4 separate regions of the Homo sapiens genome follow, and all the other regions are linked to region 3. Evidence: promoter capture Hi-C in human tissues and cell types (Jung and others, 2019). All regions are on one chromosome and are shown on one strand. Each heading gives the region's core, a stretch centred on a gene start or on the middle of the fragment in contact. The rest is flanking DNA. Distances are from core to core; before and after follow the strand shown.

Region 1 (3,401 bases), core at 888-3,387, 150 kb before region 3:
AATATATCTTCAGCAGAGAAATAACTTTTCCTTATAGAAAAGGAGAGAGAGCCAACTAACCTATCATTTCATGCTCCAGATCCAAAACTGTTGGATTTATGATTATTTTTTAAAATGGTAATTTCTCCATTTCAAAATGAGTAAGCAGGCCGGGCATGGCGGCTCACACCTGTAATCCCAGCACTTTGGGAGGCTGAGGTGGGCAGATCACCTGAAGTTAGGAGTTCAAGACCAGCCTGGCCAACATGGTGAAACCCCATCTCTACTAAAAATACAAAATTAGCTGGACGTGATGGTGCATGCCTGTAATCCCAGCTACTCGGGAGGCTGAGGCAGGAGAATTGCCTGAGCTCGGGAGGTGGAGGTTGCAGTGAGCCGAGGTTATACCACTGCACTCCAGCCAGGGCTACAGAGCAAGACTCAAACCTCAAAAAACAAAAACAAAAAGAGTAAGCAGATGTTTTGGCTTAGACTAAAAGATTCTTCAGCTTTTCAGACAGCTATAAGTATACTAAGAATTTGAGTTATGAGTTAATTCTAAGTGGAAACGCCCCTTTTTCCTCTTCACAAGTTAAGTGTCAATGAGTGATTCATACACTGTCATTTTTAAGTGGTAGTAGGAATAAGATAACTTGAAAGGATCTTACAGTCAAATGGGAAAAACCAGAGAAATCGATACTAGTACTAGAGGGCAACAAATGCTGTTACAAATTGGGGTACGTAGAGGAAGGTACTTGGTAGAGGACAGGGGCATGTTTCCGGGGCATAGATCAAAGTATATAAATAAGGAACTGCCAGGCCAGTTGCGGTGGCTCACTCCTGTAATCCCAGCACTTTGGGAGGCCGAGGCAGGAGGATCACGAGGTCAGGAGATCGAGACCATCCTAGCTAACACAATGAAGCCCCATCTCTACTGAAAATTAGTCAGGCGTGGTGGTGGGCGCCTGTAGCCCGAGCTACTCGGGAGGCTGAGGCAGGAGAATGACATGAACCTGGGAGGTGGAGCTTGCAGTGAGCTGAGATCTTGCCACTGCACTCCAGCCTGGGCAACAAAGAGAGACTCCGTCTCAAAATAAATAAATAAGGAACTGCCGGGCGCGGTGGCTCACGCCTATAATCCCAGCACTTTGGGAGGCCAAGGTGGGTGGATCACGAGGTCAGGAGTTCGAGACCAGCCTGACCAACATGGTGAAACCCCTTCTCTACTAAAAATACAAAAAAGTAGCCAGGCATGGTGGCGCATACCTGTAGTCCCAGCTACTCGGGAGGCTGAGGCAGGAGAATCGCTTGAATCCGGGAGGTGGAGGTTGCAGTGAGCCGAGATCGCGCTACTGCACTCCAGCCTGGGCGACAGAGTAAGACTCCATCTCAGAAAGAAAGAAAGAAATACGGAACTAACTTGTGATATGTTCTGGAATCAAAAGTACTCTTATGATAAAACAGGTATGAAAGGGAACATAGATGAGAAGCATGTGATAAAAACCACTTGTTCACCATGTTATACTACTGGACAAGGCAGAGGTTCACATACTGTGTGAATGGGATTCAGAGTGAGGAGGAGACTAGGCTGGGATGGGGTATTTGGATTGGACATGATTGCGTTTATAAGAATGAGAGTGTTAAATTGGATTTCTTGCTTTATTTGTGACATTTCAGTTTATTAGAAATCATGTTACCATTAGAAAAATTGAAGTTTCCTAGTAACAAAGTAATTTGATTTGTGTAACTTGATAAAAGATTTACTGACTTAAGCTTTTGTTTTTTTTCATAAGCTGCTTTTGAGCTTTGTCCCACAGGTTGTAAAATGTAAGCATTTGGTAAAATTGTCAGCATCTTGCCCAGTCATTTTTTTAAAGGGTTCAAAAACCTTTTTGTTTTAATTCGTATAGTTGGGTCTTAACTATTGGAAATAACATCATCAGTAATTTTTTCTTCATTCCTTTTGCAGGAGGCAAGTGAGGCCTATCTGGTTGGCCTTTTTGAAGACACCAACCTGTGTGCTATCCATGCCAAACGTGTAACAATTATGCCAAAAGACATCCAGCTAGCACGCCGCATACGTGGAGAACGTGCTTAAGAATCCACTATGATGGGAAACATTTCATTCTCAAAAAAAAAAAAAAAAATTTCTCTTCTTCCTGTTATTGGTAGTTCTGAACGTTAGATATTTTTTTTCCATGGGGTCAAAAGGTACCTAAGTATATGATTGCGAGTGGAAAAATAGGGGACAGAAATCAGGTATTGGCAGTTTTTCCATTTTCATTTGTGTGTGAATTTTTAATATAAATGCGGAGACGTAAAGCATTAATGCAAGTTAAAATGTTTCAGTGAACAAGTTTCAGCGGTTCAACTTTATAATAATTATAAATAAACCTGTTAAATTTTTCTGGACAATGCCAGCATTTGGATTTTTTTAAAACAAGTAAATTTCTTATTGATGGCAACTAAATGGTGTTTGTAGCATTTTTATCATACAGTAGATTCCATCCATTCACTATACTTTTCTAACTGAGTTGTCCTACATGCAAGTACATGTTTTTAATGTTGTCTGTCTTCTGTGCTGTTCCTGTAAGTTTGCTATTAAAATACATTAAACTATACCTGCTTTTGGTCTTTATTATAGCCTTGCCCTACAATTATATTCCAAATAATTTCAGTATTAAGTCCTTTAATAGTCACTTTATATCTGAGACGTGAGACTTATTGAGAGAGAAGGAAAGTATAGACTTGGTGGCAAAAGGAACTTGGCTTTATTTCTAATTTTTAGAAGCTTGCCACTACCCAGTGGTCTTAACTCTTTGGATGTGTTGTCTTCTGAACCAATAATTCGAAAAGCTAATCAACAGGATCACCTGGAAATAGTGGAATCTGTAAGTAGATTGAACTTTCATGAATGTTTAATAACAAATGAGAGTGTGTAACAGTCTTTAGCTCAAAAATTAATGCATTCAAGATCTGGCTATTTTAAGATGCTCTATTAGTTAACCCTGAATTTATTCAAGCACTAATAGTTAATTCTTAGCCCTGTTTTATTTAGTGTTGGTACAATTAATGTGAAATGAGGATAATTAAACCTTCTAAGACTTTTAACACATCCCATTAGTTGTAACGTTTGAGTGTTTGAAACTGCCCTAGAAGTGATACGAAATGTTAATAACTATGCCAAGAATAGACGCATGTCAGTAAGATACGACACTGGGCTTGCATTCTTACTGCTCTTAAACATTTAGCCATAACTTAATCTTTTGACTATAGGTGACTATAAAATTCTTTAATGGGAGAATTAATTACTTTAAGAGGCTGATTTTGTTAGCATGCATCCTAGTTTTCAGTATGATCTTTTGCATGTACTTCTACAGGGAAGTACGGGTAACACTTGGAACTTTCTCAATATAAGTTAC
Region 2 (3,277 bases), core at 104-2,603, 130 kb after region 3:
GCCTGTAATCCCAGCTACTAGGGAGGCTGTGGCGGGAGAATCCCCTGAACCCGGGAGGCAGAAGTTGTAGGGAGGTGGAGGTTGCAGTGAGCTGAGATGGCGCCACTGCACTCCAATTTGGCCTGGGCAACAGAGTGAGACTCTGTTTCAAAAAACCCCAAAACACAACAACAAAACCCCCTAAAACCTGCAATGTCTCTGCCCCTCTAACTGGCTGCTTTGGTCTTTTTTTCTGTAATTGGTCATGAAGCCATAGTGGACATCTGTGACATTCCTTCTAGCACCCATTCCTTACTTCCTTTGCCCTCAGCCAGAACCTGTTGACTAGAGTGACCCAAGCCTTCGTTCCTGAAGGGTCTGAATTTTCCACAGTGCTGTCATTTTTTGGAGTTGCAGTGTTTTTGGTTGCTGTACTTCCCCTTGCCTTTACCACTGGACATGGTGGCACTAAAGCCCTCCCGAGAATCTCCTGGGCTCTAGACATAGTCCTGCTTGCCTCCCTGTGCAGCATCCCACTTTCCCCTTGGTAATCAGGATCAGTCCCTTCTGCCAGCAAGGTCACCCCCTCCTCTGCACATTGCTGCAGTGGTACAAGGAGCCCCAAACAGCCATATGGTAGCCTCATCTTCTAAGTCGATGAAACCATAATTGTGTTGTCCGCTAGAAGCATCTCTCCCTTAGGGACTAAGACCTCCAAACACAAGCCCTGTGAGGGGATATCAGATGTGGTGACAGCAAGAGGAACTACTCCCACCTCACCCACTGGTTCCCAGACCCATGTGCTTTGGCCGGGGGGGAGACACCAGGTTGGTCTCTGATTTCAAGCCTCTACTGCATCCGTAAGATGAAACCCCATCCCTTCAGGACGCTGTCTCACAACTGGCACCATCATGAGCCATTCTACTCTTCATTTAGGTCATTTCTGGGTGATGGGGCATGTGGCAAAACCAGTTAATTCTAAGTACAAGCCTGATGCTGAACTCTGTGCTGTAGAATGAGGTCGCTGATCAGAAGCAAAGCTATACAGAATGCCACAGTGGTGGGTGGCATTGAGTGCTCTGAGTCCACATGGCCCATAGGACGCACACCAGCTGTCCCTATTACCAGCACTGTTCCCTAGTCCAGTGGGCAACATTTTTCACATAAGGGCTAATTCGCTGAGGAGGAAGGTGTTTACAGGCCACATTTTCTTTACTTTTGAAGTCTCCAAAATATATCTTATAACCTAGATGACCTGCTCTAGAGAACAGTAAAGAGAAATGAGAAAACCAACATTGACCTCTTAAGCCATACAAATGGGCATATTTGGCACATGCCAAAGGGAAGCTGCCATCTAACCTTCCATGCTGAGGCTGAATGGCAGAAGTGAGGGGGCAGTGGGATGCTAAGCACTGTATCAGACCTCCCTAAACCTCAATGGCCTCAACTTAGACTCAATTTGGCAGGCCCTGCCTGATGAAATGGTGGAAACACTATGCCTCAAAAAAGCAACCACCAATCTCTGAGGAGTCAAAACAGAATTTAAGGGAAAGGCAATGACACCACTTTGAGAAATGCGAACTCCTAAAGCACCTGGGTGTACTTTATAGAGCGGAATAAAACCAGCCCAACAGGTCAGAGGTGAATGATTCCCAATGTTCAGATCTTAACAGTTAAGATACAAGGTTTCTGAAGGCCAAAAGACAATGCAGCTTCCAGGCTTTTGGTGTAAACAATTAACACTGAGTACATACTATGCCCGCACCAGGGACAAGGCCACCATTAGATTTCATTCCTAAAAGCAGTACTTGAGGTTTGCCCTAAGGCAAAGTTCTAGGCAAATCATTCTATAGCAGCTTCGCCTTAGAGCTCTGGGACGCTTGAAGGAATGGTTCTTCACCTCTTGTGTAGCAAGAGATAACCACTGATGCAGAATTCATTGGCTAGCACATTGGCTAAAACACTACTGTGTACGCAGCGCATCTTTTATAGATGTATGCATGCACCACTGTGTGCAACAGTGTGCTCTGACATGTGAGCCCAGTACTGCCTTGGGCAACTACTGTTGGCCAAGGGCACTTCCAGGCACAAAGGCGGGAGGAGGGCAGCTCACCAGGAGGGGCAGAGGGCTATACCTCTCTCTTCTCTCATGGAGCACCCCGAGTTTCTATGCAAGGTTGGCTTTAATTTTTTTTTTTTTTTTTGAGACGGAGTCTCGCTGTGTTGCCCAGGCTGGAGTGCAGTGGCGCGATCTCGGCTCACTGCAGGCTCCAACCCCAGGTTCACGGTTGGCTTTAATTTTTAAACGAAATTCTCACATTTTAGTTGCTACCCTGAGATAGGACTTGAATTTTTTTTTTGAGACCGGAGTCTTGCTCTGTTGCCACACATGATCTCAGCTCACTGCAACCTCTGACTCCCGGGTTCAAGCGACTCTCCTGCCTCAGCCTCCTGAGTAGCTGGGATTCCAGGTGAGCGCCACCATGTCTAGCTAATTTTTGTATTTTTAGTAGAGATGAAATTTTACCAGTTGGCGAAGATGGTCTCCATCTCCTGACCTCGTGAACCGCCCGCCTTGGCCTCCCAAAATGTTGGGATTACAGGTGTTAGCCACTGCATCCGGCCAGGACTTGAATTTTTTTAAAGTGAAGGGAGAAAAGCAGAATGTGTATACTAAAACATAAAGTGCTAATTTCTCTCTTTTGAAAGGAAAATAGATTGAGAAATGTGAATCTTCCTTAAAAAAAGAAACCAGTTTTGATTACAGGGAACTCACTAAGTAATCACTCCAACCTAAAAATACTTATTTCATCAGGTACTGTGAGGGTAATTGCCTTTCTCTGTGCTGATTAAAAAAAAAGGTAAAGAGTGCAGAATACTCAGGAGCCCAAGAGCCGAACAGCCTGGATTGCTGGATGATCAGGAGAGAGGGTCTCCAGGTCAAAGGTGCTGGTCTTGAACTCCTGGCCTCAAATGATCCTCCCACCTCGGCCTCCCAAAGCACTGGGATTACAGGTGTGAGCTACTACCTCACTTGTCCCCTTCCGTAAAAGGTCAGAGGTGACATAAGACACTGGCCCTGCTTTCAGGCAATTGAAACGTAAACATTTAAGTATGATTCTCAAATGCAGAGCAGTTGTACAAGGCAATGTGGTGTATGAAAGGCAGTCCTCCAGAGAGCAGGATGAGTTCATCACCACAATGCATCTGATAAGCCGAAAAAAAAAAAAAGTGTCTCCTATGCCTGGTGCTTGGCCCACCCTTAGGTGGGGCATTCCCATTAAGCAATGCTATTTGC
Region 3 (3,247 bases), core at 56-2,555:
GCTTTGCCACCTGGAATGTCCACCCAGGATAAAAAGATCCAAGCTCTTCTGAGACTGTCTTTTGACCTTCTAGAATGCAGAGACAGGACGGGGATTGTGCCCTGAAAGATCCTCCCAATAAAGATCTCCCTTTGAGTCGACCACAGTGAGTGATCCCGGTGAAATCAGCGCTCAGGTGCTGGGGGCAAAAAGACCTGGGCCTCTGTGTTCCTCTCTTGAGTTCTTGCACTGTGGTGGGGCAGTTCCCATAGTGGACCATGGGTTTCTCTTTCAATAAGGAGAGCTCAGTGACATCCAATTCGACAGACATTCACTAAGGGGCCTAGCACCGCGCCTCACGCAGAATAGGTGTACAAAGCAGACACTCAATAAACTCAGAAAGGGAGAGGTGGGTTCCTGCTTGCTAAGACTTTATATCTAGCAGATAGAGAAACCATAACCATAGCACAAAGTAGAGAAAATGGGAGCTTTCAGAGCCCCAAGGGGCAGAGGAAAGAATGATGATTCAGGGCGCGTGGAAACTTCATGAGGTGGCTTTCATCTCCTCCCATCCAATAGACGGGTCTTAAGCATTGTTGAGTATCTCCAGAAAGGCCAAACTGCGCCGTATCCTCTGCTAATGGGGCACGTTGCCAACCCCGCCCTACCTAGGGTATCTTTATTGGTGGGCCCATGGACATTCCAGCCAGACCCCCCCACTCCCCCCACCCATTTAATCAGGAGGAATGTGCTGCCCCCTGGATCCTTTATCTTCACCCCCCTCCCCGCTTGGATTCAGGATGTGTTAGGGAGGCTTGCAGAAGACAGGGGCCGGGCTGTTTGACCAACCTGGTACAGGGTCTAGCACATAGCAGGGGTGGTAAATAAATAGCTTTGATGAGGACAGACGGGACTAGGGCAAGGCTCAAGGCCCAGGCCATGTAAGGCACAGGCCAGGCAAGGTGCTTCCGCCGCTCTTAACGGGGATTTGACCCGGAGAAGAGAGTTCTGTCGCCTGCGGCCCGCGCACCCGGGCCCCTCCGGGCTGCCCCTCCCAGGCAAATAGTCCTTCGGGGATGTGGATTGCGCCGTCCGGGCGGGTGGGCGGGGAAGAACACGGAGGGGGCCGGGACCCAAGTTCACGCCTCCCTCCTGCATCCCGCAGCCGGCGGAAGCGATTATTCCCCGGCGTCTGGCGGGGCCGGGGGCGGGCTCGCACCCGGAGGAGACACGGGTCTCCCCGAGCCCACCTTTGATCGCACCGCCCCGCCTTCCCAGCCCCTGGCCCGGGAGGGTATAAGTGCGGCCCGCGCCCCTCCGAGCGGCGCGCTGGGTTCCGGAGCGATGGCCACAGCCGAGTCCCGTGCGCTCCAGTTTGCCGAGGGCGCCGCGTTTCCAGCGTACCGGGCCCCCCACGCCGGCGGGGCGCTCCTGCCGCCCCCGAGCCCTGCGGCAGCCCTGCTCCCTGCGCCGCCCGCGGGCCCCGGCCCAGCGACCTTTGCGGGCTTCCTCGGCCGGGACCCCGGGCCGGCCCCGCCGCCCCCCGCCAGCCTGGGCTCGCCTGCGCCCCCCAAAGGCGCGGCCGCCCCGTCGGCGTCGCAGCGCCGCAAGCGCACGTCTTTCAGCGCCGAACAGCTGCAGCTGCTGGAGCTCGTCTTCCGCCGGACCCGGTACCCCGACATCCACTTGCGCGAGCGCCTGGCCGCGCTCACCCTGCTCCCCGAGTCCAGGATCCAGGTGAGGGCCCGCTGCGTTCGCAAGTGCGCGCTGGAGCGGAGGCGCTGCGGACTCTAGGTCTGGACTGCGGGCTCCTGAGGCCACACCCGGGACGTTGCAGGCACGGTGCTTCCCCTGAGGCTCTGCGTACTAGACTGAAATAGGGGGTGATATCGGCACCTGCTGCATAGGGTGGTTGCGAGGCCTGTGTGAAATAATTTAGGCCTGCACTGAACGATTTCTCTCATTATTAAATATAATAAGGGCTCCTAGGAGGCTAGCCGGTCCCCTGAAATGGCCAGAAAGTAATTCCCAGCAGGAAGATAAGAAGTTTTACACTTTTTCTTTATCCGGGAAGAAGACACAGATGAGGGGCAGTTGGGGTTTTCCTCTGGCTTTGAGCGTGAGAATGGTAGCTGAAAACGGGGAAGGCTGGCTCGCCAAGTTACCCCCATGCTACTTTCTTGGCAAGTGTTACGTTTTGGGATTAGATTTGAAAGGATGTAGCGAATTGAGATAAAGCGAGAAGCACCTGGAGCTTGTTTTCAGTTTGAAAAATCTAGTGCAAGGTGTGTTTATTTTTATTTATTTAGTTTTTATTTGAGATGGAGTTTTAACTCTTGTTGCCCAGGCTGGAGTGCAATGGCGCGATCTGGGCTCACTGCAACCTCCGCCTCCCAGGTTCAAGTGATTCTCCTGCCTCAGCCTCCCGAGTAGCTGAGATTACAGGCGCCAGCCACCACGCCCAGCTAATTTTTGTATTTTTAGTAGAGACGGGGTTTTACCATGTTGGTCAGGCTGGTTTCGAACTCCTGACCTCAGGTGATCCACCCGCCTCAAAGTGCTGGGATTACAGGCGTGAGCCACCGCGCCCGGCCGTGTTTATTATCTAAAGTAATTTAGATCAGAATCTTAGAGTTGGTAAGGAGAAGCCTGCCTTTTTGTCTGTCTGTAGCCCCGTGGTCGGTGTCCAAGCGCAGTTTTAAGTAGCAGCCCTCATTTAAACACTGGGAGAGTGGACTTGTTTTCTCTGCACCCCTGGCGGTCATACAGCTGTCAGTCTCAACAGCTGGCATGAGCAAAATACCTCCTTGATTAGTTTGACAAGGGAGTGCAGACCTTAAAAAACAGGTTTTCTTCATAATTTAATGCAGTTTTTTTCTAAGAATTCTAAGTGCTTCCATTTTTGTGACCCCATTTTTCATGAAAATTTCTCTAACTAAAGAGTAGATAGAACTAGGCATTATTCCAATGTTTCCATCTGGGAATGGGGAGGCAAGGAAAGCCAGGTGTTCTGAACTTCTAATCGTCAACCCAAGTGCTTTCTGAAGACAAGGCTCTGGAGAGGAAGCCAGGGGATGTTAAACTGGAACTTACCAGTATGAACTGTGAACATAATGTTAGCATAAAAAACTCCAACCAAAAGCAGCTTTTATTTTCTCCCCTCTTCCAGGTATGGTTCCAGAACAGGCGTGCCAAGTCTCGGCGTCAGAGTGGGAAATCCTTCCAACCTTTGGCTAGGCCGGAGATTATCCTCAACCACTGTGCTCCT
Region 4 (3,578 bases), core at 1,069-3,568, 180 kb after region 3:
GGGTATTGCCATGGCAATGGTAAACTGATATGGCACACTGGTGGGTGTTTTATGGAAAGCTGCTTCGTCCCTGTCCCTGCTTTAGTTAGTCCTCGGTTTGGTTTGGTGTCTGAGCCCCACCTCCTACCTCATTCCCCTCTCAGAGATGAGCTATTCTTCCTTAATCTTAAGGGGGCTGCAGAAGGGTGCAGGTCTGAAACTACTCTGTATGATACTATAATGGCAGATGCATGTCATCATACATTTGTCCAAACCCATAGAATGTAGAGCATCAGGAGTTTCTGGACTCTGGGCAATAATGATGTGTCAGTGTAGGTTCCTCAATTATAACAAATGTACTACTCTGGTGGGAGGTGTTGACAAGGAAGAGCCTGTGTGGTGGGAGGGGGAGGGGGTACTGGAAACTCTTTGTTCTTTGCTTACTTTTGCCATGAACAAAAATAAAGTATATTAAAAACAAAACAACTTTAAAGGCTACATTCCAAGCACCTGGAAAAACAAAATACCAAATATCATGCAACAGATGATGCTGAGTCCAGGAGGTGTTGCTGAAATAACATGGGCACCATACGCTTGATCTGCACATGTGGGAGAGGGCAAGCTGGGGGAGGTTTGCTTTGCTCTCTGAGACGAGGCCCTCCTGGGAGCTTCAGGGTGGGGGCTGAATGCCCATGCTGCCCCAGTATGTACACACCTGTCACTCCTCCAGCTTCCGCTGTCTTCTTGACTTTCTGCTGGTCATCCCACCGAAGCTCAGAGAACCCATCCACCTCAACGTCAGGGTGCCGGATGGAGTGGCCCACCTTCCAGAAGCAGGAGAAGTGGTACCAGTGTGGGACTTTTCCATCAAACATGGGCGACTAGAAGGAAGAGAAACAGAGGGAAGTAAGTAAGCAGTTAACTTTTGACTTAGACCCACTAGACCTTGACCTTGACCTCGACCCCAGTCCCAGCCCCAGCAGTGGGATAGCACATGAAACTTTTGTTCTCCTATCTGTGAAAGGAGGACAGCCTCCGCTCTCACATGAAGAGCTGCAGCATCCTTCTCACGATCTTCCCCAAGGGTCAGAAGACTGTAGCCCACTGTTCTTGAGCTCATTCTCTTAGGACACCAAACACAGCCACGAGAAAGGTGGCCTTTTACCACTGAGCTCTGCCCCACGTCCCTTTTGACCACACACTGCTACATTTAGTGGTGAGCTGCCTCATGGCCTAGTGAAATGCACAGAAGACACTTGTGCAGAGTCACAATCCTGCAGCATCTGCTGGGAATGGCCAGACAACTGCTCCAGGCTTGCCTGGACTCAAAGGGCCTGTGTGCCCCAGAAAAGGGCTCTTTAAGTGCCTCTGCAGTTAAGAATAACAAGGAACAAGTCCCAGATAATGAGCAAAGCAGAGAAAGTGTGTCAGAAAAAAGTGTCAAGCTTGCAGCAGCCACACAGATGGGAGTGGAATGAATGGAGGTCTTTGAGGCAACTGTGACAGCGGATGGTTCGGGGCAGCATGCCTAGAGCTGGAGTCAGCTGCTCACTGGCCTTCTGGGGCGCAGTTTCCCAGGCGTAGGACCTGAGAAGTCTGGCCACAGGGAACACAGTTCCCCTCTCCAGGTGGTTTGCTTCCCACTAGGCCTTTCATTGTGACAGGGTCAGGTTCTGCTCCCAGGCCTCGAGCACTGTCTGGCTTTGTTTTTGAGACCGAGTCTTGCACTGAGTGCAGTGGTGCGATCTCAGCTCACTGCAACCTCTGTCTCCTGGGTTCAAGCGATTCTCCTGCCTCGGCCTCCTGAGTAGCTGGGACTACAGGCACGTGCCACCCATGCCTGGCTAATTTTTGTATTGTTAGTAGCAATGGGGCTTCACCATGTTGGCCAGGCTGGTCTCGAACTTCTGACCTCGTGACCCGCCCGCCTCGGCTTCCCGAAGTGCTGGGATTACAGGCATGAACCACTGCACCCAGTCCTGGCTTTACAGAGTGGACGGTGACAGCGATTGGGAAGAAGGGGAAGACACAGTATGTAGTGTGTGTCCCTGCTCCTTTCATAAGCCATCCTGTGTAATCCCACAATCTGCCTCTGGGTGGGAACCAGCCCTTTCATTCACAGATGGAGACAGTGGGGCTGGAAATCCTTGCCTGGGGGGTTGGGAGTCACAGAGGCAGCAAATGAATGATTTGACACTATGATTCCTCCCACCACACTCCACTGCCCGGCAGGAAGAGCTACTTAAAAATACACCAACTGTGATCTGACTAAAGTAAGGGAAGTCCCAAACATCTGCTTTTATAGAACATAAAGCTAAATGTCACACAGATGCAATAAGACTATTAAAACAGCATTAAAAGTAAATGTGCTGAATTTTTAGGATGGAGTTGCGGGGACAGGGAAAATACTCTGGAAAAGCAATGATAAGGTACCCCACTATCTCTCTCCACTGTGAGTGGCCTCTTTCTGGATGTGATGTATTAAAATGCACAGCTAAGACTATGGCAGCACAAGGACTCCTCAACATCAGCTTTCCCCTGGGTCTGGAATGCTCTCCAGCCCTGTTCAGAGCACTCCCTCAGATCTCCCAATGCTCCTTCCACAGCTCCCCTCACTAAGAACTATGCATTTGGTGATTATTTCATAAGGGCCTATCTTGCTATTCTCTAGCAACATGTCACAGAGGGCACGCAGTGTTTGCTTAGGGCTCCAAGTCAGATGGAACAAAAAAGGAAGGATGGGGAAATTCCTGCTGTAGAAGAGACAACAAATGGCATTTCTGAGAGCATACTCATGTTCCAACTCTCAAACGTTCCACCAGATCTCAATTAGGCTGCTGATACAGATCCCTAAGCATCTGGCTATCATGGAATATTTGCAATGGCCTCGACCTGGCTCTGCCTGCTTGTCTACCCCTTGTCTACCCTTCCTGTGCAATGTTCCAGTTACCCTTGTATAAAGAGCACAGGTAATGGCTATGGCACTTCTTCCTGGCTCTGCCAGGGGCCCCAGACCTGCTGCCCTTTGGTCTGGGTGCTGTCTCCCCCAACCACCGGCACAGTGCTGGACACCCTGGAGGTGCTGCCCAATGGTGCAATCACAGCACAAGCTTAGAGGACAAGAGCCTCAGCAGAAGCACCCCTGACCAAAGCAATGCTTTGCCCTAAACTCAGGACTGAGAATGATGTGGCAGAAAGGCACCAAACCAAGGTCACAAGACTATCGACTCCATTTGTTAGCTGCACAGCTGAGGCAAGGCACAGAATCTTTGGCTGTGCACCCAAGCAAAAACTGAGCACCTAACATACCAGGGTCCTCACCCAACCAGCAGCTGGTGAACTGGGTTCCCTTCTGTGCAGAACAGGCCATGCTACCTGTCCACCTAGGCCACAGAGAGAATGAACTGACCTCACTGCATGCCTCCGGGTGCTCAAACCCTCCCAGGACAGAGCAACTCAAAGGTCTACCGCCATCCTCCTCCCACCAAAATGCTGGAGGGCCCAGCTCATCCCTCCCAAGATGCCCCAGGCATGAGGGCTAAAGTGTCAGGTATCAGATACTCAGAGAACAATACTCCCATGTAAATGTAAAAGAAGGT

Evidence for each region. The method cuts DNA at HindIII sites, captures the fragments that hold promoters and counts their contacts. A contact is called where the count stands out against the background at its distance.
Region 1: a fragment that was not itself captured here is called in contact with the fragment with the promoter of MIXL1 in region 3 in 1 of the 25 tissues and cell types used here (liver).
Region 2: a contact is called between a fragment that was not itself captured here and the fragment with the promoter of MIXL1 in region 3, in 2 of the 25 tissues and cell types used here (mesendoderm cells and thymus).
Region 4: a fragment that was not itself captured here is called in contact with the fragment with the promoter of MIXL1 in region 3 in 4 of the 25 tissues and cell types used here (H1 embryonic stem cells, lymphoblastoid cells, pancreas and 1 more).

The regions. Positions count from the first base shown.
Region 1 is chr1:226,069,403-226,072,803 of GRCh38, forward strand. It overlaps H3-3A (H3.3 histone A), which reads left to right. Exons shown (of 4, transcript NM_002107.7): 4 at 1,949-2,617. The coding sequence ends at 2,077. Among named protein-coding and RNA genes, the nearest start is that of H3-3A, 8.4 kb to the left of the region's middle. The HindIII fragment of the contact is 4,533 bases long and covers 1-3,401 here.
Region 2 is chr1:226,357,286-226,360,562 of GRCh38, forward strand. No RefSeq gene overlaps it. Among named protein-coding and RNA genes, the nearest start is that of PARP1, 49 kb to the right of the region's middle. The HindIII fragment of the contact is 5,424 bases long and covers 1-3,277 here.
Region 3 is chr1:226,222,359-226,225,605 of GRCh38, forward strand. MIXL1 (Mix paired-like homeobox) reads left to right here and starts at 1,306. Exons shown (of 2, transcript NM_031944.3): 1 at 1,306-1,716; 2 at 3,149-3,247. The coding sequence starts at 1,324. It overlaps LOC124904528 (a long non-coding RNA gene), which reads left to right. Exons shown (of 2, transcript XR_007066907.1): 2 at 1-140. RefSeq lists an enhancer at 1,625-1,684 and a silencer at 1,730-2,024. The HindIII fragment of the contact is 15,954 bases long and covers 1-3,247 here.
Region 4 is chr1:226,401,520-226,405,097 of GRCh38, forward strand. PARP1 (poly(ADP-ribose) polymerase 1) reads right to left here. Exons shown (of 23, transcript NM_001618.4): 2 at 695-860. Among named protein-coding and RNA genes, the nearest start is that of PARP1, 4.8 kb to the right of the region's middle. RefSeq lists enhancers at 1,409-2,310, 1,951-2,095 and a cis regulatory region at 2,023. The HindIII fragment of the contact is 5,776 bases long and covers 1-3,578 here.